Regions from separate parts of the Homo sapiens genome. Here all the other regions are linked to region 5. Evidence: promoter capture Hi-C in 16 types of primary human blood cells and fetal thymus (Javierre and others, 2016). All regions are on one chromosome and are shown on one strand. The core of a region is centred on a gene start or on the middle of the fragment in contact, and the rest is flanking DNA. Distances in the headings are between cores, read along the strand shown. Region 1 overlaps ARMC3 (armadillo repeat containing 3). Region 2 overlaps LOC107984215 (a long non-coding RNA gene). Region 3 overlaps ARMC3 (armadillo repeat containing 3). Region 4 overlaps ARMC3 (armadillo repeat containing 3). Region 5 holds the start of MIR1915HG (MIR1915 host gene). Region 6 overlaps LOC107984215 (a long non-coding RNA gene). Region 7 overlaps LOC107984215 (a long non-coding RNA gene).

The links. Contacts are between HindIII fragments. The CHiCAGO score rates a contact against its expected background, and 5 or more counts as called.
Region 1: a fragment that was not itself captured here is called in contact with the fragment with the promoter of MIR1915HG in region 5 in 15 of 17 cell types (total CD4 T cells, total B cells, fetal thymus and 12 more); the score reaches 16.6 in total CD4 T cells.
Region 2: a fragment that was not itself captured here is called in contact with the fragment with the promoter of MIR1915HG in region 5 in 1 of 17 cell types (erythroblasts); the score reaches 5.4 in erythroblasts.
Region 3: a fragment that was not itself captured here is called in contact with the fragment with the promoter of MIR1915HG in region 5 in 1 of 17 cell types (total B cells); the score reaches 5.9 in total B cells.
Region 4: a contact is called between a fragment that was not itself captured here and the fragment with the promoter of MIR1915HG in region 5, in 2 of 17 cell types (naive B cells and naive CD8 T cells). The highest score is 7.9, in naive B cells.
Region 6: a contact is called between a fragment that was not itself captured here and the fragment with the promoter of MIR1915HG in region 5, in 2 of 17 cell types (neutrophils and total CD8 T cells). The highest score is 7.2, in neutrophils.
Region 7: a fragment that was not itself captured here is called in contact with the fragment with the promoter of MIR1915HG in region 5 in 2 of 17 cell types (non-activated CD4 T cells and activated CD4 T cells); the score reaches 5.3 in non-activated CD4 T cells.

The regions. Positions count from the first base shown.
Region 1 is chr10:22,987,680-22,991,395 of GRCh38, reverse strand. The region is part of intron 10 of ARMC3 (armadillo repeat containing 3); the gene reads right to left. Among named protein-coding and RNA genes, the nearest start is that of ARMC3, 61 kb to the right of the region's middle. The HindIII fragment of the contact is 3,028 bases long and covers 286-3,313 here.
Region 2 is chr10:23,040,204-23,043,656 of GRCh38, reverse strand. All of the region lies in intron 2 of LOC107984215 (a long non-coding RNA gene), which reads left to right. Among named protein-coding and RNA genes, the nearest start is that of MSRB2, 54 kb to the left of the region's middle. The HindIII fragment of the contact is 646 bases long and covers 1,428-2,073 here.
Region 3 is chr10:22,969,048-22,972,822 of GRCh38, reverse strand. All of the region lies in intron 8 of ARMC3 (armadillo repeat containing 3), which reads right to left. Among named protein-coding and RNA genes, the nearest start is that of ARMC3, 43 kb to the right of the region's middle. The HindIII fragment of the contact is 2,764 bases long and covers 553-3,316 here.
Region 4 is chr10:23,005,801-23,009,549 of GRCh38, reverse strand. ARMC3 (armadillo repeat containing 3) reads right to left here. Exons shown (of 19, transcript NM_173081.5): 14 at 2,569-2,666; 15 at 1,176-1,274; 16 at 619-735. The region is part of intron 2 of LOC107984215 (a long non-coding RNA gene); the gene reads left to right. Among named protein-coding and RNA genes, the nearest start is that of ARMC3, 80 kb to the right of the region's middle. The HindIII fragment of the contact is 1,607 bases long and covers 548-2,154 here.
Region 5 is chr10:21,495,287-21,498,807 of GRCh38, reverse strand. It overlaps MIR1915HG (MIR1915 host gene), which reads left to right and starts at 1,548. Exons shown (of 2, transcript NR_160800.1): 1 at 1,548-2,058; 2 at 2,863-3,521. It overlaps MIR1915 (microRNA 1915), which reads left to right and starts at 2,167; the gene lies at 2,167-2,246. RefSeq lists silencers at 2,068-2,317, 2,528-2,577, 2,628-3,067 and an enhancer at 3,492-3,521. The HindIII fragment of the contact is 8,649 bases long and covers 1-3,521 here.
Region 6 is chr10:23,056,153-23,059,610 of GRCh38, reverse strand. All of the region lies in intron 2 of LOC107984215 (a long non-coding RNA gene), which reads left to right. Among named protein-coding and RNA genes, the nearest start is that of MSRB2, 38 kb to the left of the region's middle. RefSeq lists an enhancer at 3,295-3,458. The HindIII fragment of the contact is 1,271 bases long and covers 737-2,007 here.
Region 7 is chr10:23,088,646-23,092,612 of GRCh38, reverse strand. The region is part of intron 1 of LOC107984215 (a long non-coding RNA gene); the gene reads left to right. Among named protein-coding and RNA genes, the nearest start is that of MSRB2, 5.0 kb to the left of the region's middle. The HindIII fragment of the contact is 948 bases long and covers 1,460-2,407 here.

The DNA of each region.
Region 1 (3,716 bases), core at 550-3,049, 1.5 Mb before region 5:
TGAAATGATAACAGCTGTACCGACGGATCACATCCGGCCCCCAGTGGAAGAAGCTGGATTCCAGACTCCCTGTGATACTGGCTAGGGGGTAATCTCTTACATGCACAAAATACAGTAGATTATATAGATTCATTTTTACTTGTTTGTTTCATAGTCAAAAAAGACAGGATGCAGAGAGACTAAAACTTGCTCAAAGGTAAGTTAATCAACAGAGACCGGAAAAACAAACACATGGTTTTCTGACCTTTAATTTATTAGTTTTTACATTTTTCAACCTCTTAAGCTTTAAAAAGTATAGTATTTTCAGGAAAACAAAAACCAAAAGAATTTACTTGCTTTAGGACATCATTCCTTAGGGAATGGAAAATGAGAAGGAGGAGGAGGCAGAGGAAGCAGAGAGGAGGAGGCAGAGGAAGCAGAGAGGGGGAGAAGGGAGACTAGGGAAAGGAACCCGGGGAAAAAGGTGGAGGGAGGGTCAGAAGCAAAGAGAAAGGGAAAGGAAGGGATGAAAGATGATTTCAAGGTGCCTACTGGAGTGAGTACAAGGAGTGCTGGAGGAATTCAAAGAGATCATGAATTTCAGCACAAGGGAAATTTCTGGTGGGGAAAATGTGGAGAAGTTAAGGGTCCTGGAGGCACTGATGAGGAAAGAATGAGAGAAAAGTTGCCGGGGTGGAGAGTAAGAGGTTCAGCTCCTACCAGCTCCCTGGGGACCTACAGAACAGACCACCTCTGTGACTGTGAGTAAGCACCGGGCCTTGGTTTCCTCATCTGCAAAATGGGCATGACAATAATATTCCTTCCCCCATAGGACTGCTCTGGGATTTAATGATATATTCCACTCAAGGACTTAGCTTAATACCTGGCCGATAACTGCTAGCTTTCAACAACATCATCATCCTCTTAACATTCAGTGAGCCACAAGGGTAGAGAGTTTCAGATCATGGAAACGTAAGATCATATTGTAAAACTTGTGTGTGTGCATGAAAATTTCATTTTCAGACAATTTTTAGCTAAACAGCAAAATCTCCTACACCTGCAGAGCTAGAGCTGGGGCAGTTTCCTCAGAAATCCTACTCAAGCCTTTCACTCAAGTGTAATCAATGAGTGGTAAGGACCATTTCCAGTGTGAAGAAAAATCAAGAGAAATGATTAACATAAAAAGTCAAGGGTTGGTAAAAATAACCTTATATAGGTTTAAGTATGCTTCAAATTGGAAGTGGGGGGGGGAAATCACACAATATAAAGATTTCCTCTGAAAATCAGTAATGTTGGAAATTAAACCTGAAAGAGAGTACTAGCAACTTTAAAACGAGGTTATGCAAATATCAGTCTCTGCACTGTAGGTAATAAAAGTAGCATGGATAATTTTCTAATTGAACATTTTATGGGATTCACTTGGCCTCACAAAATCAGTAGCTAATCAAATTCAAACTGTTAGTCAAGGTCAGGTGGGCATCCACTGACATGAAATGGGGATAGGGAATCCACTTGTTCTATTGCAAAATTCAGCTTTTCATTCTCTGTTTTCCAAATTCAGTATGATTTTTCCAATCCAGTATAACCAATGTTTAGAATAAGATTCCATCAGACAGGGAGGAATCTAGGCTCTAAGGGGCAGAAAGAAAAGCATCCACTCAGTAAACTTGGACAGAAATAATGCAAGAATAATTCTCAGGTTTACCATGAGGACTTTTCCCATTTATTTTATCTATTAATTCCAGAGGACTTTTAAGGCATTAATTAACATGTTAAATACATTCTTCCAGAGCTCATCCTTAATACAAAACAAAACCTCCTAAAAACTTATGAAATTAGCTATCTTGCAAGATACTCATCTTGTGAGTATTCTAATTCAAAGGATCTAGAATTTTACAACAAAGTGATATAAATAAGAATGTAAAACAAAATCTATTATACAAAGTCAAGAGCAAAAAATCGACTCTAGAGAAACCATAATAGCAATGAGATTTCTTAGATTATGTTGTTCAAGAGTATTACATTTATCCTATCTGGTTATATAGCACAGAAGATGTCCAGCTACCGGTACAATGAATGCGTCAAAACATTTGTAAATGACTACACCTTAATAGGGGACAAAGTCAAACACAAGCATCTGTTAAACACACGTTTAGCAGTAGAATATTATCTCTAAAAGCAGCATGTTGAAATGATTTTCAGATCGGAATCTTTTAAAAATGTTTTGGAAATATTATCTTAGATACACTGGAGAGTGTTCCAAATTAAATTAACGTACGTTTCATTAAACTACAGAACCATCCTTCCATTACCTTTTTTGCCCCTCCCCCAACGTCCTCCTAATCGGCCACTAGGGGTCAGTATGAAGACGCAGTTCCTTGCATTGTTAGAAAATGGAACTCTCCGAAAATGAAAAACCCTATGCAACAAAGACAATAGCTGTACAACCTTAGCAATATTAAATGCAACCTATACATCAAGTCTACAACACGAACTTGCATTTTTCATGGGACTACGTTTTAATTTTGTAAATCACTGTGGATTATCTCTATGGTCAATGCTTCTTTAGTAAAAAGTATTCTCAATGACAGGATTACTTATGTAAGTGGGTCTGTGTAACTGGCCAAGAAGTGTGTTCTAAGAATAGGGTGTTAACATTTATTTTTCAAAGGGTGATGGGACACATGTCTAGCCATTTCATCTCTTCCTGTACAGGGATGGAGAAGGAAAAGTGGAACTTGTGGTTTGTATTTTGCTAACTTTAAGAGATTTTTCCCCCCTTCAAAATGACCATCATCATTCACTGCACTCAGCCTTCATTCCACTATGAAATATAGGCAATTCTAAGGAGAAACCATTAGCCTAAAATCAATAGAATAAAAGAAATGGTAACAATAAATACACAATACATTATCTTCCCACCAACTTTACTGAATGGGAGAGAAATTTTTCAAAAGGTTTGAAAAGTGCTTTCTATTTCTGCTGGAGAAACTTAACATTCCAGGAAATCATTAAGATCATGCCCCTCCCTGACAATACTGAAATGATTGATAAAGGACTTTGGTCACTGTGAGTAAATGCAGCACTGATTTTTGTTGAAGCACTAGATGAAGTATTGACTTTTCTTGAAACACTGTGTGAAGTTCTGTATGTGGCATACGTTCTAAAGTTTTCTCTACAAATTGCATGGCATTCTCAGGCATGATACTCCATGAATAATTCTAATAAGTATTAAAATTAGTCAATGCTTTATTTCTATATTAGCGAAAAGAATGTTTAATACTGATAATACAAAATGACAAGTTATCCATATATAACGAGGACATTCTAAGCTTCCCAAAGCACTCAAATGCACATCCATATAATTTGGGGGCATTCTATCTGTTTGTGGAGTCCCTTTGGAGTGTACTGCTTACAATTTCATCATTCCCTTGTGCGGTCCTGACCATAGGGAACACAACAGCAAGACAGTTTCTGGGGAAGAGCTTTTTGTCTCTGGTATTGTAGAAGCTGGCAATGGGCCAGTAATCAATCAATTAATTTTTCAGTCACCACTATATGTGCTAACATTTAGAACTTTCTTGGGTCACTGCTGTCATGGAAAGTCAAAAGGGGTACAAAAAATAAAAAATAAAAAGCAAAGAAATGGTAATAAAAGGGTCTCTAAGATTTAGGTAAATCACTCAGTTCTTCATGGGGATGACATGGAATAATTATGAAGAATCAGAGTTAGTGTG
Region 2 (3,453 bases), core at 501-3,000, 1.5 Mb before region 5:
GGGAGATAATGCTCCATGGGTCTCCCTCGTTCTGCACATCTTCCTGATTGACTTTTGTTCCAGACTATCTTTTCAAGGGTGTTGGTGAATAGCCTTGGCAAATAATATAGTGTCTCTCTTGCTGCTCATTATACTCATTTTTTTTTTTTTGAGACAGTTTCACTCTTGTTGCCCAGGCTGGAGTGCAATGGCGCCATCTCAGCTCACTGCAACCTCCACCTCCCAGGTTCAAGCAATTCTCCTGCCTCAGCCTCCTGAGTAGCTGGGGTTACAGGCATGCGCCACCATGGCCAGCTAATTTTGTATTTTTAGTAGAGATGGGGTTTCTTCATGTTGGTCAGGCTGATCTCGAACTTTCAACCTCAGATGATCCACCCATCTCAGCCTCCCAAAGTGCTGGGATTATAGGTGTGAGCCACTGCGCCTGGCCCTTGCTGCTCACTATAAAGGATTTGGGTTCTCTAAGCTCAGAGTTCTTCTGTAACACAAACCACTGCATTGATAGGCATCCATCTGGGTCTATCCATGTTTTCCCCATGAGACTTGGGAGCAAGGAGATTTGACACAAATAGCCTGGCTCATGCTGCTTGCTTTGCTGTGAGTAATAAAATCCTTTGTCTCTGATCCAGATATCTCATGTCTTATTCCAGCAACAATAAAATTGGCAGTTAGCTTGCAAGTAGGATAAAATCTCAGACCCTTCACAGTTCTTAACAAAAGTATAGAAGATAGGAGGTTTATTTTCTTATGTAGATTGGTCAAATCTGTCCTCATCCTATTGAAAAATAAGGCATCTGTGTTGGCATCCATTGGAATAACATCAAGCAGATCCATCTTAGAGCCCAGAGAAACCAGGAAAGGCAAATGCCAGGGTGGGAGTCTCCCCTGAATACTTAGCTAAGGTGCCCAGGGATTATACTAAGTAAACTGAAGCCTTTCCATGTCCTTATCCTCAAAGTGCTCATCATCTAAAGCAAGGGTTGACCAACTATGGTCCGTGAGCCAATCTGGCCCCCCACCTGTTTTAGTAGATACAGTTTCATTGGTTAGGTATTATCTATGCTGCTTTTGTGCTGCAATAGCAGAGTTGAGTGGCTGCAGTAGAGATGGAATAGCCTGCAAAACCTGAAATATTTACTCTCTGGCCCTACAGAGGGATCTCAAGAGAGAGACAAATGCTTGAAGAATGAGGAATTCCCTTAAAACATGCTAAAGGCAAACAGAACATCATGTGTGCATAGAATAGAGAGCTACACACACACACACACACACACACACACACACACGCACTCACATATACAAATGCATATGCCATCCCCCACCTGTCATTTATATGCATGGTCTTATTTCACCCTCACAACAGCTTTATGAGACATATAGGTTGGAAGCATGGCCTCTGAAGCCAAACTGTGTTTAAATTGAAAGCTTTGCCGCTTACTAGCTGGACAATCTTGGGCAAATTACTTAACCTCTCTGTGCCTGGGTTTTCTCACTTGTTAACTGTGGGTAGTCCTACCTATGCATCACAGGATTACTCCAAGAGTTGAAACTACAAAGAACAGCCTCTGGCACATCGTAAACAATATATAAATATTTGCTATTATTTTTCCTTACTTTCCAGAAGACTAACTGAGGGAGATAGAGGTTAAGTAATTCTCTCAAGGTCACACGGCTAGAAAAAGTGAGAGACAGAACTTGATCTCAGCTCTGATTCTAAAGAGGTGCTATTATATTGCTTCTCAATAATAAAGACATTGAATTTTTTAATCCCTGCTATTATTTTAATTCTCAATAATAAAGGCTTATTGAATTTATAAGTAAAATCACCACAAGAAAATTTCTTTACCTTTTCCAACAATGCTTTTTATTTTTTAAATTGTGATTTGTGGTTTATTTATTGGTAGATCCTACAGGTCTCTTGTACTGTGTGAGTTCCACAAGAACTTTATTTGAATTCACTATATTAATATAGTCCCACCTGACACCTTGATGATTGTCCTTGGAAATGAAGTCCACTTTTATTATTAAACTAATTATATTCATGGCTTTAAAATGATAAACCTAAGCAAAGCTTTTGCTAGTGATCTATATAATACTACTCAGGTAATTTTAAATAAAGAATAGGACTTTTAAATATTAATCCCTAAATAAGTGACTTGACACTATGTATTGTTCCTAGAATATACCAAGAACAGTGATATTTTTCCATATAGTGTTTAGTAAGTTCATCCTACCCCCGTATTCAGTTGAGTTTAAAAACAAACAGTGGCAGGGTGTGGTGGCTCACGCCTGTAATCCCAGCGCTTTGGGAGGCCGGGGTGGGTGGATCACCTGAGGTCAGGAGTTTGAGACCAGCCTGGCCAACATGGCAAAACCCCATCTCTACTAAAAATATAAAAATTAGCTGGGTGTGGTGGCAGACGCCTGTAATCCCAGCTACTCGAGAGGCTGAGGCAGGAGAATAGCTTGAACCCGGGAGATGGAGGTTGCAGTGAACCGAGATGGCACCACTGCACTCCAGCCTGGGCAACAGAGTGAGACTCTGTCTCAAAAAACAAACAAACAAACAAAAAAAGAGCATGTAAATACAGCCTCTCTCTAGATAGTTCTAAGGAAAAATGCACCATCTCTTGAAACCCCATTCCTCATCTCCAGATTGCCAGCTCTGGCAGGGGAATACTGTAAGAGATATCTTGCTGAGAAACAAGTTACTTGCCATTAAAAGTAATGACAAAAACCATAATTACTTATGAGATGGGAGGATCACCTGAGCCCTGGGAGGTCGAGGCTGCAGTGAGTTATGACTGTGCCACTGCATTCCAGCCTGCGTGACAGAGTGACCCTGCCTCAAAAAATAATAATCCATTCGATTTTACATGTTATTTTGAGCTTCTGGAAAAGTATTTTTCATGGATGAAGTTCTGCTTCTTTGGCAAGGAAATAATACATTTGATGTGTACTTATTAAAAGTATTAAACACATTTGATGTGTACTTACGAAAAGCACAGTGCAAACTTCAATTCTCATTTATGATGCTTGCTTAAAGATCAAAGCTTGTGAAACGGATTTTATTTAACTGTCCATTTTCCATTTAATTAACAGCTATTTTTAAAAGTTAGTTATTAATTTTAATGAAATGTTTTGATCTCCAGAAGTAAAACTCTGGATTTTGGATCTGACAGAACAACTACAAGTTACTTTATATAAATTGTCTTGAAATGTCACAACCACAACAGTTGCCAGGGTTTTAAGGGACACCCAGGATTCTGACTAAAATCTCTATAGTTTCAGATATTACCCCATATGGTTTGGGTCTAGTTCTGACCAAATTGCACATTATTCCAGGCCAAAGCATATAATTCCTGAAGGATATCCTTAGCACTTTTCCCTCTCGCTGTAGCAACTGAGGAGATCTTGTATTCCAGATGCTGCAGGTACAAAATGGAGGAACTT
Region 3 (3,775 bases), core at 685-3,184, 1.5 Mb before region 5:
ATATAAAATGATGGTGCATACTTTTAAAATAGCTTTCGTAATACTTATCAACACATTTCAAGGAGGGTATAATAAACAAGAGGAAGTCCTGAAGAGGTAAGAAAATGATCCCAGGATGGCCTGGGGACATGCGTGGAGAGAGACTAAACAAGATCTGAATTCTTCGGTCTGAAAAAGTGATGTTTGAAGGGAACATAATACAATCACAGATGACATATATGAAGTAAATACAGTTAGTCATTAGATTCTAACATAAAGACAGGAGACACAACTTGAAACTGGAATGTAGTTATTTTAGAACTAACAAAAGGAAGTAGAATCAGAAAACATTAAGTGCCAGAAAGGATTTAAAGACTATCTGCTTGAATTCCTTTCTATTACAAATAACCAATTTCAACAAATGATGCTAGGAAAAATTTATGTCTACATGAAAAAGAACGAACTGGGACCATAATTTTATACCCTATATAAAAATAAACTCAAAATGGATCAAGACCTAAATATAAGAGCTACAGCTACAAAACTCCTAGAAGAAAACATAGGGCAAAAGCTTTGATATTTGGTAATGAGTTATTGGATATGACACCAACAGCAAACAGCATAGCCAACAAAATAGATAAATTGGAATGCACCACAATTTAAAACTTTTTGCATCAAAGCACACAATCAACAGAGTAAAAAGGCAAACCACAGAATGGGAGAAACTGTTTTCAAATAATATCTGATAAGGGGTTAATATCCAGAATATATAAAGAACTTCTGTAACTTAGCATCAAGAAAACAACCCAATCAAAAAATGGGAGAAGGACTTGAATAGATGTCTCCAAAGAAGATATGCAAGTGGCCAGTAAGTACACGATAAAGATGCTTGAAGTTGCTAATCATTAGGGCATGCAAATAAAAAGTACAATGAGATAGCACCTCACGCCCATTAGGATGGCTACTATCAACAAACAGAAAATAGCAAGTGTGGGCCAGGATGTGGAGAAATTGGAACTCTTGTGCATTGGTTATGGGAATGTAAAATGGTACAGCTGCTACAGAAAACAATATGGCAGTTTCTCAAAAAAATTAAAAATAGAGGACGGGCATGGTGGCTCACACCTGTAATCCCAGCACTTTGAGAGGCTGAGTTGGGAAGATTGCCTGAGGTCAGGAGTTCAAGACCAGCTTGGCTAACATGGTGAAATCATGTCTCTACTACAAATACAAAAATTAGCTGGGTGTGGTGGTGCGTGCCTGTAGTCCCAGCTACTCAGGAGGCTGAGGCAGGAGAATCGCTGGAAGCCAGGAGGTGGAGGTTGCAGTGAGCTGAGATCACACCACTGCACTCCAGCCTGGGTGATGGAGCGAGACTGTCTCAAAAAAAAAAAAAAAAAAACTAAAAATATAATTACCATATGATTCAGTAACTCCACTTCTAGGTATATATCCAAAATAATTGAAATCAGGGACTCAAAGAGATATCTGTATACCCACATTCTTAGCAACATTATTCACATTAACCAAAAGGCAGATGTAACCAACTGTCCATCCATGGTTGAAAGGATAAACAAAATGTGGTCTATACAGGCAATGGATATTCTTTGGCCCTAAGAAGGGAGGAAATTGTGACACATGCTACAACATGAATGAAACTTAAGGACATCGTGCCAAGTGCTATGCATTTGCAAAAGGACAAATGCTGTATGATTCCATATATATGAGGGATCTAGAGTCATCAAATTCATAGAGACAAAGAATAGTGGTTGCCAGGAGTTTGTATGAGGAAGGAGTGGGAATGATTGTTTAATTGGTATACTTTTAGTTTTGCTAAATGAAAAGATTTCTGTGGATGGACAGCACCACAAAAATGTGAATACATTTAATGCCACTGAAATGTACACTTAAAAATGATGAAGACGGTAAATTTCATAGTATTTGTATTTCACCACAATTTAAAAAGCAAGAATAGGATTGATTCCTTTTCTTCAAGCAAAACCGCTCCCCTTCTTGAGTTCTTCAGTTCTGTGAGTGGCACCATTTTACTTCTAGCTGTCTAAGCCAGAAACCTGGCCTCATCCTTGGTATCGCCTTCTTCCTCTTTCAACCAACATAGTCATTCAAAAATACTCACACATGTGCTGGTGGTTCTCCTTGCAAAGTGCCTTGAGCCAGTCCTGAACACCGCATCTCTGTTTCAGGGCACCTTCACATCTCACCTAGATTACTACAGCAACCCCCTTTTGGTCTTCTGTGTCTGGTCCTAAACATTTCCAATCTCTTCTCCACTTTGCAACACGAGTTCTCTTTCTTTAACAAGTGAAAATCCATGATGTTCCCTCCCTTCTGAGTAACTTCAATGGCTCTTTGTTGCCATTAAAATAAAGTCCAAAATCCTTAACTGGGCTTATAATGTCCATGAGCACTGGGCTCCTCACCACGTCCATAGCCTGAGCGCTCAGTGTTCTGTGGCTTTCTGGTCATTGGCCATTCTGAAAACTTTCGGTTCTGGAACTTACCATGTTATCCCTCCTCTGGCTTTTATACACCCTGTTCCTTCTCAGAACCACTTCTCCTCCTCCATCCCATCTGAACCTTCTTTGACCAGACAATTTATCTTATTTACTCTAGGTCCTAGCTTGTTAATCACTGATTTCAGAAATATTTTTCTGATCCAGGTCTGTGCTGGGAGCCTTCCTGGGTGATCCTGTGTTTCCATCATTAATCACTTTGAACACTGCATTGTAAGTGCCTGTTTACTTTCCTGTTCTGGGTGAGAACTCAGTAAGAAATCATGAGTAAACGAATATATACATTGTTCTGGAGAAGTTATAGTTCACTCAAAATCACTTAAGTAGGTCGTTACAATGCCAGTAGTGGAACTAGTACTAGAACTCTAGTACCAGGAACTCTGCAGCATACTTTCCAGTACTGTGGCACATGATGGGTAGGCATCATCAAACTCACCACCTCAAAATGAGTGAGAACAGTCTTAGAATGACCCAGCCACATTTGATACATATAAATACTCTCCAAAGAGATGCTGAGATACGCAAACATTTCAGGTTTGGCATTGTCCGTGTCTCCCCATTTTACTTCTCTTCGGGTCTCACTTAGCTAAGAAGAACTAGGATAGAAGGAAGAGAGAACTGACCAGCTAGAATAATGTCTAAGTTCCATTTGATAGAATACTGGGTAAACCAACTTTTGCCAATATGAAGAAACCTTGATTTCACAACCAGTCTCTCAAATAGGCATTTATAATGTAACTCATGAGGCCCCTCTATGCACACTACATACTGGATGGTGAAATCTTGCTTACTGCATTAAAGCTTTGTCCTGAAGAAATCCAGTGTGTGCTGAAAATGGAGTGTTTCCCATAGTATACATATCAATATACAGATGTGAGTATATATGTTTAGAATATAAATCACTTAAAATAGTCAATGCTGTCATCATTTCTAAAAGTGGTGCAGAAGGGGAAAAATAAGATCACATCTTTTATTAGATAAAAGACTCCAAATATACATAAATTAAAACTATAATTTCATCTGTGCTTGTGCTGTAATTAATCTCTCATATTTTACAGATTTATATCAACATAACTTGTCACTGAAATGCAAATTGTATTATGTATATAGTATGAGCATATTTTTCACAGCTATGTAACATGGTGCTACTAGACTCCAGCTGAAACTTGAAAATTACTTTATAGATATCATTGTGAATGTGGATTTCTTCAATGCTCTCAGGTTCACAAACAATGCATACCTTCTATATAATTCCAAATTCA
Region 4 (3,749 bases), core at 102-2,601, 1.5 Mb before region 5:
ACTGCACTCCAGCCTGGGCGACAGAGCGAGACTCTGCCTCAGAAAACAAAACAAAACAAAACACAGACCTCAAAACGACATTATAATTGTCCCAACCAAGTAAGAGCGTTGCTCTATTTGCCTCTCCTCCTCCTCATTCCTTCTCCCATGGAGGGTCAGAGATGGTGAGGGAGGTGGGGAGGGCCGTGGAAGCAAAAGTGGGGCGGGAGGAGAGAGCGTGGGACCACACATCTGGGTGTGGGGTTCCCCACCTGCAAAAGTCAGCAGTGGGAGGCAGAAACCCTCACACCAAGTTGGTTACCCAGGGTTGGGCTTTCAAAGGACTGATTAGAGACTGCTGTCCCTGTTGCCAAGTTTTAATTAAAGCGACTGTAGGACCCTGTTGTTCCTACAAGTGATCCAAGTGACCAGAGTTTTTGGCCAGAGCCAGAAGACAATTCTCTCCGGGTAAGTTTTAAAGAGATGGTAAGAGACAAAAATCAAGTTTCTTTTAAATTTCATCTCATGAGTCTTGCCTGGTTCAACACCCTGATGTCAGAAGAAAGCTTCCTACTGAAGAGCCACCCCTCCCTTCCACCAGCCTGGCTGGGTAATGAGGAACTCAGGACACTTTCTTACCTCCATCCTTTTTCTTTGGTGGCGCTTTTGCTGAGAACAGTATTTCGTCCAGAAGCTGGCTCTGATTTGTCTTCTATGGGAGATCCAAATCCAGCACTAAAATGATAACTATTTTTTCTTGTCATTTGAAAAAAAACCACAACCAATTTCAATCATATGGAAAACAACAATACATTACATTTGCATTTAGAGCTTACAAGGCATTTTTACTTCATTATACAATTTTTACTTCATTATATAACTTGATTCCTTTCCCCATGATGAAGCCAGGGACCCGGTGTTATTTCGTCCACAGCTAAGGAAACGAAACCCACACAGACACTAAGTCATGTGGCCCAAATCACTGCAGGTCCACAGGGCGAAATAGAAGGTGAAACCAGATTTCCTGGCTCCTATTCCAGAGATCTTTCCCATAGCAATGTAAAAGGCAATTATGCAATTGTATTACCATAAGAAGAATAAAAATCAAGTTGCCCCAATCTAAAATCTAAAACATTTTTTCACACTCAAATTAAAGGGGAAGCTGTTTGCATACAGATAAAACATCATTTTCTTACTTGTTCTTTTCTTTACTTGATCTTCTTAAGGAAGATGAAGAAGAAATACTTCGTCCATAACCAACATCTGATTTATCTTCCATAGATGAAGGTGGAGAACTAAAATTTTACACATTTAAAATTATATATAGATTAAAATTATTTGTCAACAGATGGTTTTATTCCACGAAACAGATTTTTTTCTGAAAGTCATAACTGAAGCTGACTTTTAACAGTGACATACTGTTTTTAAAGTATAAAGGAGAAGTCATTTTTTCTTTGTTTGTTTTTTGAGACAGGATCTCACTCTATCGCCCAGGCTGGAGTGCAGTGGTGCGATGATGGCTCACTGCAGCCTTGACCTCCGGGGCTCAAGCGATCCTCCCACCTCAGTCCCCCAAGTAGCTGGGACTACAGGCATGTGCTACCATACCCAGCTAATTTTTGTATTTTTTGTATAGATGGGGTTTCACCGTGTTGCCCAAGCTGCTCTCAAACTCCTGAGCTCAAAGGATCCTCCTGCATCAACCTCACAAAGGGTTGGGATTATAGGCATGAGCCACTGCAAGAAGACTATTATAAAGCCTTTCATAAGCTAGAACAGAAATTATTTGTATAAAATGTATCACATAACTACTATATGGATATATAGATATACACGATCTCTCGCTCTCTCTCTTTTTTTTTTTTTTTTTTTGAGACGGAGTCTTGCTCTGTTGCCAGGCTAGAGTGCAGTGGCAGTGCAATCTCAGCTCACTGCAACATCCGCCTCCCGGGTTCAAGTGATTCTCCTGCCTCAGCCTCCTGAGTAGCTGGGATTACAGGCGTGCGCCACCACACCCAACTAATTTTTGTATTTTTTAGTAGAGACAGGGTTTCACCATGTTGGCCTCGATCTCTTGACCTCGTGATCTGCCCGCCTCGGCTCCCAAAGTGTTGGGATTACAGGTGTCAGCCACCGTGCCCGGCCATGGTCATTTTAAAGAAGACCATGGAAGCTTTAATTTTTAGCTCTATCATTTACTTCTTATTTCAAAGAAAAATGTTGGGTGGTAACTGTACTCCAGCACATAGTCCTGGAGAATTGTAAACATGATTCATCTCGGTTTGCTGCTATTTACACTTTCTTCAATGACTCCATGGTAAGAGGCCTTGACTTCAGAATACACTTGAAATTGACTGGCAGTATAGAGTCAAAGAAAGAGAGCAGAGAGTGCATTGATTTGCAGTGGTGGCTATTTCATGGTTATTCCATGTCGGGCTATGAGTTTATGAGCCAGTGTTTATTTTCATGGAGGTGCTAGATACAGGAGAAAAGGGTCTGGGAATCTTTGCATATTCACACGTTGGTGGAGAAACAACAACAACAAGCAGTATGTGCTTCCCTTCATCCCCTCTCCCTGCAGAGACTCACACGTAAGATTTACTGTTGATTAAGAGTACAGCCCGTAGGTCACTTGGTTCTTGTAAGCAGAGCTCCTTCAAAGGCAACAGTTTGGTGCCGGGATTTATCTGTGAGATAATTTAAGGACCAAAAAGTAGTATCTGCAGGGGTCATATTTTCGAAAATGAATACAGATAGAATATATTCTCAGCTGTTTGCGGTGTCTCATTTCACACACACAAACACACACATGTACAATATACATATATAAAATTAGAAATAGGAACCTGAAGCTTGTGGATGTTCTTGCCTTTGGGCAGGACAGATCCAGTTCCTTATCATCTCGATTGCTTTACACTCGGCTGTTTCATCCCATCATTATCATCTTGGCCCCTGGAAGTATTTGGATTGGCAAATCCATCTATATACCTAAGGGAGAGCTGACTGCCTGCAAAAGTAACTGAATACTGGAACAGATGACTAAAAGTGTTGTGAGTGTATCTAAAAGTAGGCTAGACAAAGCCCTGTGCAGGCAGTTTCACAAGCCTGGAGGAAGAGGGCTAGACTAGATCACTTTTGAGATCTTTTTCCAATTAAGTTATAGTTGAATCCCTTTCTCATCCAAGATACATTTCATGGTCCTTTGGGAAGAAGGCAAAAGAGAGCCTTTTAAAATAAGACCAATCCTGTCATTCTTCTGCCCAGGACACTGCCACGGTTCCTGTTCCATTCAGAGTAAAGGCCTTTAACCTGGCCTTCGTTAGCTCTCTGGTCTAGGGTCTGCTCTCCTCGCACTTTGCTAGCCCAGCTCTAGCTGCACCGGCCTTCCTGCTGTGCCTAGCACATGCCAAACATATATTCACCACACGGCTCTTGCACTGCTTGATTCTTCTGCCTAGAAAACAACCCCAGATTTGCCCAGGACTTCCCCCAGCCCCAGATTTGCCCGGGACTAAGGTCCTCACCTGCTGCAAGTTTTGGCTTGGAAATGATCACCCTCTCAGTGATACCCACCTGACTGCAACTTCTAAAATTGCAACCGCCCACCTCAGGGCTCCCCAGCATTTCAGAGCCCCTCACCCTCCCTCTGCCCAGCTCTCTTCTCCCTCCATGGCACCTCTCATTTCTTTTTTTTTTCCCCCTTTTTTGAGATGGAGTCTAGCTCTGTTGCCCAGGCTGGAGTACAATGGTGCCATCTCGGCTCACTACAA
Region 5 (3,521 bases), core at 299-2,798:
AGAAAAATATCATAACCATTTCCACTTAAAAAGTGAAGATCATTCTGATGCCCCAAAATAACTGAGGCTAAGAAATAATTAGATACCTTAAAGCTACAGTCTAAATTTCCATGACTGTTTGGAAGACTTCTCTCCAACGCGGGAGGGGAATTTGTTTTTTAATGTCAAAGGTTGTGTTAGCATGTACATTTAACCCAGGAAATTGTGAGAACTCTCTTCAACTCAAGTTGGAAAAAGGGAATGTGTTTGAGCAAAGTCTATTTTTAACAACAGAAAAGTGTGAGTTAAAGTGGACTGTGTGTTAGGTTGGGAATATAATCCATGGCAACTTCACTATACAAGTATTTTTGATTCTTCAGTGGAACTCATCCTCAAATTTTAGTAACTTGAAAAATTGAAGTCTTAAGTATTGTGTATTAAACTGAACCAAGAGATCACAGAAAGACAAAGCTATGGTAAAAGATGTTATAGTTATATTCTCATAGATTTAGTAGGAAAATCACAGCAAAGGAAATGCACCAGGAAGATATGAAATAGAGGAAATATGTTACAAATAATGAAATAGAAGGAGTTGCTGCACAATATAGCTTCACAATCTTATATTTTGAGGGGTAGGTTTTAATGAGAAGCCTCTGCATTGCATGGGAACTGGGAGTCGTAAGAATTATTTATGCAGTAAGAAGGAAAAAAATTAATTATTAGGAGCTCAATAATCACCAAATAAACTCTGAGCTTGGAGGTTAAAAATAGACGGCTATCTTCATGTTCAATTATACAGTATCAATTACTAATACAACTGATGTTTCAGTGTCTCAGCGAGAACAGATACCATCTTCTATGGAGATATCTTGGTATTAATTAATGACTGCTTTATTCTCATTATTCACAAGGAAAAATAGGGGTCGTGTCACATTAAAATTAAGATTATCTTAGTTTATCTGGGCTCTTAAACAAAGATCATTCAAAGTAATTATACTTTGAATTAATCGAGGTAGGCAATTTATCTCGTTATTTTTTTTTGTTCAAAGACAGGAAAATAAAGATCAGAAATAAGCAAAGTTTCATTTTGAAGATAGAAAGAACCAAACAAACATGTCTTGACTTTTGCAGTATTTCCCTTGCTAAAGGGGGAATGAGGGAACTGTAAAAGACGTGACTTTGCAAAGTCAAGTCCTTTTTAAAAGACTCGGATCGAAATTCTTGCTATGCAACAAGGATTCAAGTTTGATTAATTTTCTGCAAGCGACGTGACAGCGGTGTTTTAAAAGATTAATTAAAATTGAAGTGATACGGAGCAGGAATTCAACCTGCAGAGGCGTCCCTGGCGCCTTGGGGGGCTTTGTAAGCGAGTCCCAAGCCCGAACTGCGGGCTTTCCCGAGCCTGGGACGCAACTCCCCGTCTCCTGGAGAGGAACGCGGAATTTGGCAGGGCGCCCGCCTGGCCGCCTGGCATCCTGAGCTGGCCGCCAGCTCTCGGGGGGTGGGGACTGGGTGTGTCCTGGGGAACCCGCTGCCGAGAGAGCAGCTAGCGCAGCTCGCGACGAGCCATTGAGGACCAGGGTCGCGCCGAGAGGCCGGAGGGGGCTCCAGGCAGCCTGGAGCTGACGGCGCCGGGCTGCGTCCTCTTCACCTGGGGGTGGGGGGTGGGGGCACGTACTTTGTGACCAGGATGGTGCCGAGCCCCCTCTACGGCGGGAGCTTGCAGGGGTGCGGGGGTGTGACTGGCGCTCCGCGGACTCGTGTCCACAGTACAGAGGACATGTAGGGTTCGGCCGGGGCGCGGCTGCACCGGGGCCTGCCTCGCGGACCTGGACTCGGGACTCCGGGCGGCCCTGCCTGGTGCCATTGCCTCAGCCAAGTCTCCCACCTCTCTGCTCGGTTTCCCGCCCCACCTTTCCCCTACTACCGCATCCCTGTCCCCTCGCTTCCCTCCGCGATGTCTCCATCCGAGTAAGAAACGAAGCTGAACGCATTGGTAACTGTGCTCAAGAAGATGCAATCGCGGGAGCCCTCAGGGTGGCGCACGGCGGAGAGGCGACGCGGGTGGCGCTGCAGAGGGTACGGTGGGGGGCGGGGAAGAGGGGGGCGTTCGTGTGCAATTAGCCTCCCCAGGGCGCGGACCACGGTGTCCCCTTCTCTCCAGCTGGGGGTCTCGGGTCCTGGCGCTGAGAGGCCGCACCTTGCCTTGCTGCCCGGGCCGTGCACCCGTGGGCCCCAGGGCGACGCGGCGGGGGCGGCCCTAGCGACCTGCGGCGGCGCCGGGAAAGCCCTGCCTCTGCAGCGGGTCCCAGGGGTCGGGGCCTGGAAGGGTCCCTGGGAATGCTCCGCGCCGAGAAGGCTCTGTGGTTTCTCCTCCCCCACACGTCTCCCTCTCCTCCCCTCTTCCCGGGGACCTCAGAGGTGGCGGGGAAGTGGGAAGGGAGGCGGGCTTGCAGACCGTGCAGGCTGGGGAGCCGGAGCTCGGGAGTTGGGGGAGTCCGAGTGAGAACGGAAGCGCGTGGACGCGATGGAAGGGGCCGGGGGAAAGGGGGACGGCACTGGGGAGGGCTGGGGTGCGGGGCAGGCGACAGTCCCTTCCCCTCCGAGCGGCGCGGGGGACCTCTTCCCCGGGGAACCCCCACCCAGCCGTTCCCAACCTCGAGAACAAAGGGTCTGGGAAGCACGGTCGGGGTCGGGGAGCGGAGGTGGAGGGAGGCAGGAAGGCAGGCGGTGGGGGCAGGGGAGGGCGCCTCCCCACGTTTCCTCTCGCGGCCGAATGATGGAAAGCTCCCTCCAGCAAACGCCTCACTGAGGCCGCTTCTGAATCCGGGAGGGTTCGGGTTCGTTACCTAACGGCTGCACTTCGCTCCCTTCCTCCCCCAGCGTCCCCACCCCCTCCGGGGACCGGGGCCCCGGAGCTGCCAGGCCCGCTGCACGCGGCGGCGCGGGAGAAACCACGGGGCAGCAGCGCCCCCTGCAGGTGCCGGGCGCCTCCGCAGCCGCTGCGCGGACCCGACTCTTAAGGTGGCACCACCGGGTTCCCAGCCCGCGCGCAACCCGCAGCCCTGGCTCCATCCGCCGCACTTCTCCCTGTAGCGGCGGGCCTGACCGTCCGGAACGGCCGGAGTGTGCTGATGCCTGCTGCTATCTGCTTGATCCCTTCACCCTACCTCTCATCCAGGACTTCTTCCGCGGATGCGCAGCTAGCGATTTCGACAGGCGAGATTGAAAATTCCGGGCGAGTATATGAGGTTGAGTAAGTCCCGCTTCAGGGAGGAACGACCAGAATGACATTTCTTTAAGCCTAAATCAAACTTTTATTTTCGTTTATAAAAAGCAGAAGGCCAGCAGGAAAGGGTCGCGGAGGACTGGCACATCCACAACCGTAGGACTCTTGGATCCAAGTTTTTAGGCTGAGACTGGGCGGTCCGGGGTTCTCCTTCGGCGCTCACACCCCGCAAACTCGTGGGCAGTGCAGTGCTGGAGGCCGGGGGCAGTGGCGGACCCGCAGGGTAACCTTGTCTCGCGCACCTCCCGAGCCC
Region 6 (3,458 bases), core at 123-2,622, 1.6 Mb before region 5:
TAGGAATCCGTCAAGCCCTAAAACTCTATTATAGTATTATTGAACCTAATTGTAGCACAAGCCTTTGTTTCATTAACTGTAGATTTGAAACCCTCATTTGCTCTAGGAATCCTTTGGTTGCTGTAAGAATATTATGACTTGTTATTTCTACCTTTAGTGATGGTATCTATGCAATAGGGAAGATAATAAAAATTCTTTCTGGAAAAATAAAAAATAAAAAGTAAATGGGTCACTCATATAAGTGAACTCTGAATAAGCTGTAAGTAGACTATTTGAAGCAGAGAGAAGAATCTATTTTCTAGGATACTATAATCCCTTTTAAGTGAATTCTTAGTGTGATTATCAGATGATAAGTTCTTCAGAGTTGTTTTGCAAATAAATGATGAAAGAGGGGAGGGGGTGTAGTGAGAGGGTAAGTTCCACTGGTTGATGAGACACAATCCTCAGATTGGTCTCTCACCCATATTTGCAGGAGAGCTTGTTCAGAAATCTGAGATTACATGATACAGGATGAAACTACATCAGAGTCAACCACCTAGACTAGGCTAACCTTTATAAAAACAGCCTCCATCACATAATGTTTAACATGTAAAGATAAGTGCTAGAATTTTCTTCCCTTGCTCACTGTTCTGGCACTTAGCATAAGAAAAATGTCTTCATAACCCCGCGTACTGTTCACTTGTGTTCAACACATGCTCAGGAAACACTACAGATCACATTGTCTATGCTGCAAGCTTCCATACCTGCCCTGTTTCTGCTCCAACTGCATGCACACTTAGGATTCTGTTCCAGAAGCTCAGTGATACCGTCTAGAGCAGTTCAAACAGGAGAACAACTTTTCTTCTATTTTTAATTTAAAGATTAACATAAGTTTTATTTCTATTTTTAATTAAAGATTTGAGAGTTCAAACGGTTTTTAAAAAGGTTTTGAACTTAGAGGAGAGCAAATCAGGTGTCTGTTATTACTTGCTCTGTGGCCTCAGGAATTTTGCACTATGGGCTGGGGTGGGGCTGGTTTGGATATGCCTCGCAGTTGCATTGGACCTGTTGTCCAAGAGTTTCTGGTTAATACAGAAACGCAGTCCTGAGGTGCACAGAATCACTGGGACAGGTGTGTCAGAGAACATTCAGAATAGAAGAAAGGTTGGCAAACATAGACAAAGGAATCAGAGCCTTAAACACCATCTTTCAAAGTCTAGGAAACTGGGAGCAAAATTTCCACTTTTGTTTGGCATATTCTCAGGGTTTTGGAACTTTTCAGAAGCAATACAGAAAAAAAAATGACAAAACAAAAGAAACAGCATTTTCTTTAAAAGGGAAAAAGGAAAAAACTGTTGGCCACTCATTGTCATATCTAGAGAATGGAGAAAATTAAGAAAACCAAAGGGCTTTTTACTTTTCATTTATATGCATGAGTAAAACCTTAGTTTTATCTTGTTGCTTTTAGTGGAAGAAAGACATTTTCAAATTGTATTCACGGATTGATTTTTTGGAATAGATGTAGCTTCTTTAGATTTCATCAGAAAAGAATTCTTTTCTATTATAACTATTTGAAAACAGTATATTTTTAGCCATTAAACAGAACTTTTGGAGCTGTGACCAAGTAGTTTTTGGAGCAGTCCATGAGTTTGGGTGTTTGTGTGGATGGAGTTCAGAACACACTGCTCCATATACGATACGCTGACATTTGAGGAAACAGCAGAAGCAGGAAGGTCTCTTTCACCTCCTTCTCACCCTTCTCCCCTGAAACAGGTAATAAGACCTTCATCTGAGAAGTTCCCACTCTATACCTGTCTTTATCTCTGCAGACACAGGGACACAGAGAACACTCTGAACAAACAGGTCTTGCTAACTTTGTAACCACAGGACCAGCCCAAATTGTGCCTAGTCTGTTGATAACAAAATGTCAAGTTACTTTGTAGGTAAAGCAGGGCCGAAAATGGCAAGCCATGTACTTTTTAGGTAAAACAGGGCCAAAAATTGCAGGCGTGCACAATAGACAAAGCTTTGACCTCTAACAACACCTGGAACCAATGATTCCTTCCCTTAGAACCAAAAAGACCAGGGCATGACCCAAACCTGAATGCTGTAACTCTTTCAGAAGATCTGGGGCAAAAATCTGTCTCGACATCCCTGTGATGGTTAACATAGAGTGTCAACTTGATTGGATTGAAGGATGCAAAGTATTGTTCCTGAGTATGTCTGTGAGGGTGTTGCCAAAGATTAACATTTGAGTCAGTGAACTGGGAAAGGCAGACCCACTCTCAATCTTAGAGGGCACCATCTAATCAGCTGCCAGCGTGGCTAGGATAAAAGCAGGCAGAGGAGCGTGGAAGGACTTGAGTTGCTGAGTCTTCCAGCCTTCAGCTTTCTCCTGTGCTCAGTGCTTCCTGCCCTCGAAGATCAGACTCCAAGTTCTTCAACTTTTGGACTCTCGACTCACACCAGTAGTTTGCCAGCAGCCCTCGGGCCTTTGGCCACAGACTGAAGGCTGCACTGTTGGCATCCCTACTTTTGAGGTTTTGGAACTCAGGCTGGCTTCCTTGCTCCTCAGCTTGCAGATGGCCTATTGTGGGACTTCACCTTATAACCATGTGAGTCAATACTCCTTAATAAATGCCCCTTCATATATACATGTATCCTGTTAGCTCTGTCCCTCTAGAGAGCCCTGACTAATACAATACCTTTTCATAAATGGTCAAACTTGAAGCCCTCCAATCAGACCCTGCCAAGCCAACATTCCTAAATCCTTTCCCATTCTCTCTGATCCCTTAAAACTTGCCCCCAGATCCCACATCTCAGAGACAGATTTGAGCCAGTCTGGCTGATTTTGTAAAAAAGCCTTTCTTTTCTACAAAGCTGGTGCCATAGTTATTGACTTCTGTGCACATTGGACAGCGAGCCCATTTTCTTGATCACAACTTTCCCCACAGTTTATGATAGTTAGATCATTCCCCCTTTTTCCAATCATACTTCACAACTATCTACTGAGTTTTTCATCAGATTTAGCATAAAAATAACAGGCTTCGCTGTGTCTTCAGGTTTTCATTTCCTTATGAAGGCTCCCATGCTACTTAAAACTAACATTAAATAAAGTTGTACACGTTTCTCTTGTTAATCTGTTCTTTGTTATAGGGGCCTCCGCCATGACTCCAGCCATGGGAAAGAAAGCTGTTTTTTTTCCCTACAGTATTTTATTGTACTCAGGCACAGAGACTTCAGAACCTGAGTGAAAAGGCCTCCCCTTAAGCTGTAAATGACACAGTATAAAATAAGTTGTTTGCTTTTGACACAGAAATCCAGTCAGAGCAACTCCAAGAGCAAGTTCTCCGGTTAATCTGACATGACTAATTCAACTAAAGTGGATTTTAAAAAATGACTTTAAAAGTAGACTGCATCCCAATTGCTTCCATCTAAACCACCCTCATTTCCTGTTCCTCTGCATTTTCTATTCCTGC
Region 7 (3,967 bases), core at 684-3,183, 1.6 Mb before region 5:
AGTAAACAAATTCAAATCCAGAGAGGATAAGTACCTTGTCTATGATCACACTGCTAGTTAGTTGAAGAGTTTGTAAAGTTCCCCTAAAGTTTAGAATTTAGAAAATATCAAGGAATACCGGTTTAACTCACCCACCTTCACCCCCAATCCCAAGCAAAGTTAATAAATTAACTTAACATTGTGACATTGTGGGAAAAAAATCATGGAGTCTGGTGTAAAACACATTCAAGTCAGAATATCTTAAATTTAAAAGACGCATGAGCTTGATCAAGTATTCAACCTGTGACAGATCAGTTTTCTTATCCCCAAAATGGGGTTATTGTAAGGATTAGATACAACATACGTTAAAACACCTAGCAAACCCTTTGGTACATACTTGGTTTTAATAAACGTTAGTTGTTATTGAAGATTTAATGAGGACAACGGTAATTGGTAAACAGAGCTGATAACCAATCTATCCTTGCATTTCTACATATCCTCACACTCCCAGAAAGACATTCTAAGCACAGAGGAAGTCCCTCCCTCCCTACCACCATTCTCCTTTACACCTGCTAGGAGGACCTTTACCTCATCTGTGATCAAGCCCTTACTGGTCTTAAAATGTCCCCTCTTCTCACCACCATTTATCTGAATCCAACTTAACCATCAAGGCCATGCATTAACCTCACATTCTTGGACACATGGTCTTAGCCTGAACAAAACTCTACTTTATGTTTTCCCTTTTACTTTGTACACTGAGTGGTAGAGACTATCATTTGCCTGGCCGATATCCACTCTCTCTACTTACAAACAGATCTTTGATTTTATTAAGAGTAGCAATATGCCTAGCTAAAATGTTACATCTGTCAGCTCCCTTGTAGTTGGTGGCAATCATATGATGCTGTTATGGGCAATGATAGGAGCAGACATCACTGGGAGCTACCAGGAAAACTAGTTAAAGAGGAGCTGGCTCAGCACTGGACTTTTGCTCTGTCTTTTGTTTCTGCTTGGAAATTAGTCATGATGGCTGGAGCACTGGCAATCTTCTGGTATACATGAAGATGAGACCCACATCTTGATTTTAAAGAAGTAGAAGACATGAAGGAGCCCAGGATTCTGAAGACAGTGTGGAGTCAATATGCTAGTCTTGGATTGCCTGCCTTCAGATTTCCAATTACATGAGAGACCAATAAATCTATATTTTGTTTAAATCACTGTTACTGGGATTTTCTGTTTCATGAAGTTGACACAGTGTATATCTGATGTCCTGAATTTGATTGTGAGAATCTTCAGGAAAGGCAAAATTCTATAACTTTGACTCTTTGTATATCCAACACACTTCTCTGCAAACTATAAATTTGATAATAAAATCCCTAAAAGATAGGATAGAATGACCAAAAAATGGGAGATAAGTGCAAAAGCCAATTTGCTTTTCCCTACCAAAAACCATTTGGGAAAGAATGAGGGACTGGAATAAGCTTTACACAATTAATCTGCACTGAAAATACTTTATCTGCTTCCATCTGCCCAAAGTTCAATGTCGATACTCATTTTTGTTTTACCTCAATCTAGAGAATTCCTAGAAACTAACCAACTGGAACATCTAATATATATAAAATATAGTTTTAAAGCTCTAAAGGCAGTGAATGAAGACTTAAATAAATGGTTCGATAGAAAAAAATAGCATGGGATAAGCTCTGGGTTCAATTTCTAGGTGTTCTCCTAAGCAGATACAGATGTTTTGGACAAACCAGTCTCTGGGCCTTGGTTTGATTATCTGGAAAATGACACGAATACAGGGGAGGGTGGCCTAGAACTAGAACTCAAATTATATCTCAACTCTCTTCAGTCTGTAATTATATGACGGGTGGTGAAAAATGGAAAGATACACTTGCTGACCAAAGAGCTGAAATTACGAAGGTTAAAATACATTCAACTTATAGATTTAAGCTATGTCACTTATAATCCCAATGGATTACTTTACAGGAATTGAAAAAATAACAACTGAAATAAATGTGGATAAAAATAGACTTTTATGTTAAAGATAATATTGGAGAAGTAGCCTCTCACATGTTAAAAGTGCTTATCAAGGAAGAGTAGATATGAAAACAGTGTTCTGATTGAAATAATAACCAAAAAATAGTCCAGAGAGATAAGAGGTTCCAGAAATTAATACATATTTAACCTATTAGAAACAAGGGGATATAAAATTATTCAGTATATTTTTTGTGGGAAAGTGACTATCAATACAGGGGAAGTAACCTTGGCGTCTAAGGCTTAGATGAATAATTCACTTCAAAAGAATTATTTTTTGAGTTAAAAGTAGTATGTGGATATGTGTATCATGTCAGAGCTCAGAGTACAATACCCCCCAAGTATGGTGCTCTGGTATGCTGAGCATTTTTGAATTAAATGAAATTGGAAAGCTTTAGAAGCTGCCTCAGAAACAACGACTTTCTAACTTTTTATTTCTTCCCCACAAGTGAAGAGAAGGGCTTTCTCCCACTGAGTCTTCCAAAAGAAGTGCAGTTGTCTTAAGATCTCTTTACTAGGAATCTTATCAGATAACCAGGAAAGATTAACTACTGGAGAAGAGGAAAGACTAAAAGTCATCACTATGCCCTGAAACACTTTTTATCTGTTCTTCTGATGGCACCTCTGAGAGATTACTTTATTATTTAAGATTTATTTAAGATTATTTAAATATTTACTATTTAAATAAAAATTAAATGCATAATAGGACAACCTTTGTTCACAGTACAGTTCTGCCCCTCACCTTCCCATAACTGTGGGTCCCATTCTTCTTCCGAAAAGAATAATTCAAAAACTACTGTCTGCTCTTTGGGCCTATTCAATTTTCCTGAAAATTATTTACAATCCCTCAAAATTGCCTAAGTTTCCGCCATCGCCCTCTTCCCTATGAAGAAGATATATAAGTTTCAACAATTTGGCCTTTCTTTGAGTCTCATATTTGTGGGGGTCTTGTGACCATGTGCACTTTAATACATTTGTATGCTTTTTCTTCTGCTACTCTATTGTCAGTTTATTTCAGCAGTCTCACTTCAGAGGGAAAGTTTAAACTTCCCTACCACACATACACAAACACACACACACACACACACACGAAATAAAACAATACTGCATACATCCATTTTGAAATAAAAATAATTTTTGGACAATAAAAGCAATAAAAGGAGTTAGCACTGAACAAATGATAAGGTTGACAGGTTCAAGTGAATGAAATTTAAGTACATACATACATACCACAAGATGAAGAACAAAAAATGATTACTCTCAAATTAGAAAAATTAAAATGATAAAAATACGAGAGTATTGTAATACACATAACAGTAAACATTTAACATTATATATATTAGGGAAATTAATATTATCTATATGGCCAATTTCAGGTCTGACTGGACAGATGGTTAAAGAATATGAACAGATGGTTTGCACAAGGAAAAATACAAATAGTGAACAAACACTTGGGAAAATGTTTGGCTTCCATAATAATTAAAGAATTAAAAATTAAAATGGCCTAATATATTGCCTCATGCATATTAAATTATTAATAATAGTGTTTTTTTGGAATTAAAGCTACCAGAGCTTTAAGAACTCATACACTGTCTGTAGAAATAGGGTCATACTTTTTCTGGAAAGAAATCTGACAACATGTACTAAAGATGACAATTTGGCAAATTGGCTTTGTGGAGCAAATCCCAAGGGAAAAAATCAATAGTAAAGAAAGCTCCAGTTTTGCAGAGAAGTTTACAGTTATGCTTTTCATAATGGCAGATGAATCCAGAGTCATTAACAGCCAGGAAATGACTAAGTAAATCTTGACATAGCAATACAATGAAACATTATATAGCCATTAAAATGTCAAATATGAAGACTACCTGGATTTATGGAATGGTCTGCATGAAATAATGTCAAGGAGAAAAAAGTAGAATACAAAATAGTTCATACTTGACAGTAAAAGTGGGTA